Linked DNA regions of Homo sapiens: region 2 is linked to region 1. The links are contacts of gene promoters, found by promoter capture Hi-C in human tissues and cell types (Jung and others, 2019). All regions are on one chromosome and are shown on one strand. Each heading gives the region's core, a stretch centred on a gene start or on the middle of the fragment in contact. The rest is flanking DNA. Distances are from core to core; before and after follow the strand shown.

Region 1 (2,569 bases), core at 70-2,569:
AAAACGATCGAGATTTGCATTTTTACACTTTCTGCCTGATTCTTCCCTATGTCACTTAGCCGAAGCCAGGCCCTACGAGGGTAAGGGTGGGGAAAATTCCCTTGGAGGAATCTCTACTTATTGGAAAAAGAAATAAGCAAAAAGCAAGATGAGCCTGGCAGAAAGAGATATTTTGCTTGTGGCCTTTACATTTATGACTAGCAAGATAATGAAGGAAGGTAATTCTGAAAGCTTTATGTCAGTTTTAACGGTCCCTCAAGCACTGAGAAAGATAATCGTCAATGGATGGTGTCCATAAGGATTTTTTCTCCTTCTCCCCTGACAGCCATTGACAGGATCATTTTGTATTTGCAACTGCTGTCATTGAAGCGTGCAGAAAAGGCCCTGTAAGGCCAGAAGGATGAGGGCTACTTCCCTGCAAGGATCTCTATTGTCATCACTATGGCAATAATAGTTACTATAATTTTCATTCTGCTTTTCTATAGAGTGTCGACGTTGTGGAGCTTAAGGCTATGGGATTTGGGTCACATAAAATCACACTAGCATAAAATCGTGCTTTGTTATCTTGAAAGAGTATTTTTTTTAACTGCAAAGAGAGCCTGTGCAACAAGATTAAAATAATTGCCAATGCAGGTCACTTGACTAATATAATTATTTATGGGATGCTAATAGCTTTTCAGACGCTTTCAGATACAGTGTCAATTTGACAGCAGTTTTTTCTCTCTCTGTTTGGATTGTAAGACCACTGCCAGTTTTTCTCCCCAAGGACAAGGCTTATCATTGGGGGGTGGGGGTGGGGAATGTAAATTAATTGGAAATCAGCTCTCAGGCGTCGTCTGGTAGTTTCTCTTTATTATCTGCAATTAAATCATAAGGACAGGAACCATGCCTTCTATTTCACTTATATGCACCCTCATCTCCTAGCGTCGCGCTTTGCATAAATTTCAGTGGTACTAGCTTTCCTACAGACTGCTTTAGAGACATTAGACACTTCTAAAGTACGACTCTGCGGAAAGAGCCCTTTGGGAATGAAGCGGCAACGGTGGCGCACCTGCGATCCTATCGTGGGATGACAAAGCTCTAAGAGGGGTCTCAGGGTAGGGAGGAAACAGCTGGAGACAAAGAAAGGGGGTGTAGCGAAAAGAGGTGAAAACAGGAAAGATAAGCGAACAGAACAGACCAAAGAGAGAAAAATAACAGAAGAGACTGAGAAAAAGAAAAGTCAAGTGGAGCGCCCACTGCCCCGCCTGCAGAAGGCGAGTACGCGCGGAGGAGACTACAGGCCCCAGAATCCTCCGCGGTTCCCCTTGCCTGGGGTCAGTCTCCTAGGCAACCCCGCTAAACAAGATGGCGACCTCCGAGAGGGCTCTCCTGAGGACCAGAGCTGCCTCTCTCCTGAGAGGCTTGGGCAGATCCCGAACTGGAGCCCGATCGTTACAGTTTCGCGCAGAAAAAGAGCGTCAGCCTTGCTGGTCTTTTCCCATGGGGCAGAAGACGAAAGGCAGCTCTAACATAGCCTCCTCCTACCTGCTCCAGCAGCTCATGCACCGCTATCAGGAGCTGGACTCGGACGGAGATGAGGACCAGGGCGAGGGCGAGGCGGGATCCGAGGAGTCCTCAGAGTCCGAAATGCTGAATTTGGAGGTGTGTCTTCCCCCCCACCCCGTACTCCCTGGCTCCCTCGTCCAGCCCTGTTACTTCAGCGGCAGCTCCCCGATGCACCCCCACCAGCCCGAAGCTTCCCACACCTTCTCAGGCTCTCTCGCCTCCAGGAACGCCTCTTCCCCCTCTTTTCTTCCCCTGTCTTTTACCCCGTTTTCTCACCCCCTGCCTGAAATAGCTCTAAATAGTTCCTTTCTTTTTTCATTAACACATTTGATTTCTTATGAGTCGAGTTAACACAGCGTCACTTTGTAAGAGTGTCTAGATAATTGTCTGGGAATTATGGCTTTAGCTTTTTCAAAATTATACTTTGACAGTATTGTGAATAGGCAGAGTTCATCTCTGACATTGCCAGCACCTGTTGCCCATGGCTATGACATACTTCCACACTCTTCCTCAGTTCTAGTCCCGTCAGCCTCCCTCCAGGAAAAAAAAAAAAAAAAAAATCCGCTTTTGAAAGTGCTTCTTCAAAGACTAAGTGACTTAAAAGTTGAATACATTACTTCTGTCGGGGGCATATGCCTTATACAAGCAACATGCACACACACCAGAAAAGAGCCTTATAATGTTCGAACAGCCAGCTCATTGTGGGAATATTTTAGGATGTGGGGAATGTTCCCATCATCCCACCCATATTGACTGGGATGGCGGCTTCGCGTTTCACATGACTGCCATTCCCTCCTTTCTACAATATCTCTTCTGACCACCACACAATTCCTCTTCTTTCTTATGCTTATTATGGTCCTTTTCCTTTCTTAGTCCATTGTTGTCTTCTTGTCCTTTTCCACTTCTCATCACATCACTTCTTTTCTCTTGGCTTCTAATAAATTGCTTTCTTTCAAAAGCGTAATTTAATTTGCTTCCTTTCTATTTTGTTTATGTTTTTGAGATGGAGTCTGGCTTTGTC
Region 2 (4,316 bases), core at 1,118-3,617, 110 kb before region 1:
GGCCAGGAATGATCTCTGGCATAGCTGAGAATGTTGAATTCCTCCCAGGGGAGCTGTTTACATAAATTTATTTCCTACAAACCTGTTGCACCGGGAACATTACTTTTGTTTTCTGCAGGAAAGGTTGTGAGTTTTCCTATTTGGAATGACCAAAGTGTAGTTTGATAGAAGGGGATTAGCAATGACATGCTGCCACCTACTGGAACTGCCCACAGACAGCCAGACTGAGAATGTCTGTGGTCTCCTAAATCTCCCCTCACTCTTCTGAATCAAGAGTGGGTATTGCCCCTGAAGCGGACTTCAAAGGTGACTTGGCTTGAAAATGTGAAATGCCCCACCTATCAAATAAAAATTTATCTGACTGCTTTGCTAGAAGAACAATTTTGTTTCTGAGAAAGAAGCACAATATTTGTCACATCCTTTTCTCTGTTTGCGTTTCCCAGCTTTATTCTGCCATTGGTCTTGTTTGCCTTCCCAATTCTAGGGGCACCTATCCTTTTCCCAAGATTTGCCTTTAATACCCCAGATTTTTGACTCAAGATTATTAGCCGTGTAGATTTGGGATTAATTTTGTAGAAGAGACTAGTCTGCTGCCAAAAAAATTCTTTTTTTAATGATGATGCCCCTTAAAATGCTGTTAAATCTCTTAAATTTAATAGTGATAAAAAGCTAACCCTGATTTTCCTAGGGGCCAGAGTAAATTGGGAAATGCGATGGTTTACATGGCTTCCACTGCCAGATAGAAAGAAATATACCAGTTGATAAAATTCAGTAATAAAACCAAATCTTGTACGGCCTGATCTGATGGACTTTTTAAAGATCTTTATATAAATAGATTTAAATAATATTACATCTCTCCAATTAAACCTTCATTTGACCTTGCTGTCCCGTTTCTGACCATGCCGCTTTTTTCTGATCTCCCTTTTTTTACATTTACATTAGGTCCCGTGCATTGTAACAATTAATTGATCTCTAATTAATCATTTAATTAGGACTCCTTGAATGCGGGTGAGCATGCCTTACTGGTCTGCATATCCTTCACAGAGCACTTCAGAGCAATAAATACTTCTAAGCCTCTCAAAAAAATCTCTCAGTAACTGACGTTTGATTCCCCATAAACATATCTCATGTGTGAGGCTTTGATTAAGTAAGATTTCTTTTGATTATGCTCAATTAGTGTCACCATATTTTGTATATATATATTGTCAATGTATAATTTAGGGTTCCTCGAGATTACTGGCAGACAGTGACACTCTTCCCTTTGTAGCACATGTGCTGGAATTGGAATGATTCAGAGATTAGCATAGATAGCGAGTATTATTATTATCCAGTAAAGATCCCAAGGAACAGAAATAAGAAGTGACTTGTCCAGAATCTGTCATCGAATCCTGCTGTTTATATATTCTGCAGTACCTTTGTATTCATCATAGTTAGTTAATTAACCCACCCAGGGAGGCTATTTTTCTGCCAGGGAAGGGTTGCATTGTACTGAAAAGATATTAAGCTTGTTCTGTGACTGAAGCCCAAGAATGATCATTTACCGACTCTATTAGAATTCTCACTGAAAAATTTGAGGCTGGAAGCTGACCTTTCTTGTTTTCTAAATAAAGATGTAGTGTTTAAATTTTGATGCTTGAAAGTAGGAAACTGGCACAATCGCTGTCGTAAAAGCAGAGCTACAGCCCCTGTAAACCACATCATGCCAGACTTCCCATCCTGCCCCTCCCTTTACCTGCTTTATCATATACAGGAAGAAAGCCCTTCTCTTCATTCCCACCTCCTGCTTTACTGAACACCCTTTGCTGATCCAAACAGAAAAAGATCAGAGTACTGAAGGAAGGTCACATGGCCACAGTGAATTCTGTGGCCAGCACTCCGCTCAAGGACCTTTTGTTCTCTGAAACCTTCTCCAATGTGCCTGGCCCATATCACTTGCTCTTTTTATAATCCTTTTTTTTTAATTTTCTGTACTCTAAAATTAATACCTCATTATGTGCTATATTGTTCTTCATTTGTTCCCATCTTTTAATATTTTATTCATCTAATTTTTATTAACATGTTCTCTCTCTACTGAATTATAAAGTTCTTGTGACTAGTTACCATGATTGTATTTTGTTTATTTGGTTTCTGGGTGGTTTTCCCCCTTTTACTTCTCTGTAATAGACTACCTGTCAGCAATCTGAAGTATTTATGAAAATAATATGGGTTTTAAAATATGTTTGATATGTATTACTTTCGATGTATGTTTGTTTTTGTTTTTTGTTTGTTTGTTTTTTTGAGACTGACTCTTGCTCTGTCACCCAGGCTGAAGTGCAGTGGCCTGATCTTGCCTCATGCAACCTCCGCCTCCCAGGTTCAAGCGATTCTCCTGCCTCAGCCTCCTGAGTAGCTGGGATTAAAGGCACGCGCCACTACACCCGGCTAATTTTTGTATTTTTAGTAGAGATGGGGTTTCACCATGTTAGCCAGGATGGTCTCGATCTCCTGACCTCAAGTGATCTGCCTGCCTCAGCCTCCCAAAGTGCTGGGATTACAGGCATGAGGCACAGCGCCCAGCCACGATGTATGTTTTAGAGAGCATCTGTAGCTAAATACAAATAGGTTACCAAGAAATAGTTTTTGTACCTAGCTTTACAGACCTTTAACTTTAAACTACTTTCTCTAAAACAAGGAAAGCTCCTGCAAGACATGTGATTTTTTTTTACAAACCATCCTAGAGGCCTATATTGGTGACTTTCTCTCAGTGATGATGATGATGATGATGATGATGATGATGACATATTCCAAGTATAATATGAGTAATTATAATTACTGTTATATAATGATCTCAGCACATGACATGAACGTTAGTAAATGCTTTACCTACATTGGTTCACTGAATGTCCCTGAAACTCTATATTTAGCTATTGCTGCAAAAAGATGAGAAAACTAAAGCTTAACGAAGTTAAGTAAATTCCTAGTTTACATAAGAAGAGAGGCCAGATTCAAACTTAGGTCAATCCAACCCCAAAGTCTATGTATGCTCTTAACTACGTGAAGTAAGGCTACCATTTTGGTCAATGTTGGGTCTCTCTTTTGCTTATATTAAAATATGATTTTATTTTTCAGTTATTCTCTTAGCTATCAAACATTTCTTTTTTCCTTTATTTTCTCTGGTTGGGTGTCTTTCCCCCTTGATTTCCACTGAGCTCTGATTGCTAACTGTTTTAATCAGCTTTAATGGGCAGTTTGACGGCAGAGGGGTCTGCAGACTCTTCCTACCTTGGTGGTGTTATGGGGTTGGTTTTGCTCAGCTGTCAGGTGTTCATGCTGCTTGTGGGTCTTCTGCTGGCCTTCCAAACAACTGTCCTTGGGGAGCAACACTTAGACCCGAGACCACTCTCTCAGAATCTCACCACAAATTAGCACGTCATCAACAGCACTGAGCAGCACCATCATTAATCCAAATGCATACACCTGTGCTTTTAAGACAATAAGCAGCTAAACCAAGTGCTTCCCAAAGACTAGAAGGTATAAGAATTTCCCTATCAGCTACAGGGTCTCTTGCAGGGAAATTGTTTTAAGTGGAAACTCTTTGACTCCATCCCTAAAAGTTCTGATTTAGAAGGCTGAGGGTAGGGCTTGGGCATCTGCGGCTTAACAAGTGCTCAGGAGATTATCATGCAGAAATACCGGCCCTGACCTCGTTTTCTTTGAGATTCATGCAATATCCAGGCCATCGTCTTTCAACCTCATGTTTCTCCTTTAGTCCCCTTTACTCTTATCTCCTACTGCAGGCAGCAAAAGTAAAAATAACTTGAAAGCACTTTTCTAGATTATTTTAAATTATTAAAATGACACACAAGGTGGTCACCATTATTACTCTCAGTTAACATGTGTAGACATTGAGGCAGAGTCGGGTTGTATTCTTGGAAATTTGGGAGTAAACTAAATAGCATTTCATTCACCTAGTAGTTGGCTAATAAATCAACCTTTAATTGTTGCATGAATTTGAGTAAGTCACTTCAGCTCTCTTGGCTGAAGTTTCCTCATCTATAAAATGAAGGGTTTGTGCCTGAAATGGCAGCACTTTGGGAGGCTGAGGCAGGTGGATCACTTGAGGTCAGGAGTCTGAGACCAGCCTGGCCAACATGGTAAAACCCCGTCTCTTCTAAAACTACAAAAATTAGCCAGGCACGGTGGCAGGTGCCTGTAGTCCCAGCTACTTGGGAGGCTGAAGCAGGAGAATGGCGTGAACCCAGGAGGCAGAGCTTGCAGTGAGCCGAGATTGCACCACTGCACTCCAGCCTGGGCGACAGAGCAAGACTGTCTCAAAA

What was found. Contacts are between HindIII fragments. The study calls those that stand out against the background at their distance.
Region 2: a contact is called between a fragment that was not itself captured here and the fragment with the promoter of LRGUK in region 1, in 3 of the 25 tissues and cell types used here (H1 embryonic stem cells, dorsolateral prefrontal cortex and hippocampus).

The regions. Positions count from the first base shown.
Region 1 is chr7:134,126,021-134,128,589 of GRCh38, forward strand. LRGUK (leucine rich repeats and guanylate kinase domain containing) reads left to right here and starts at 1,320. Exons shown (of 20, transcript NM_144648.3): 1 at 1,320-1,644. The coding sequence starts at 1,348. RefSeq lists enhancers at 1,173-1,222, 1,333-1,602. The HindIII fragment of the contact is 8,230 bases long and covers 1-2,569 here.
Region 2 is chr7:134,016,672-134,020,987 of GRCh38, forward strand. The region is part of intron 17 of EXOC4 (exocyst complex component 4); the gene reads left to right. Among named protein-coding and RNA genes, the nearest start is that of LRGUK, 110 kb to the right of the region's middle. The HindIII fragment of the contact is 3,677 bases long and covers 530-4,206 here.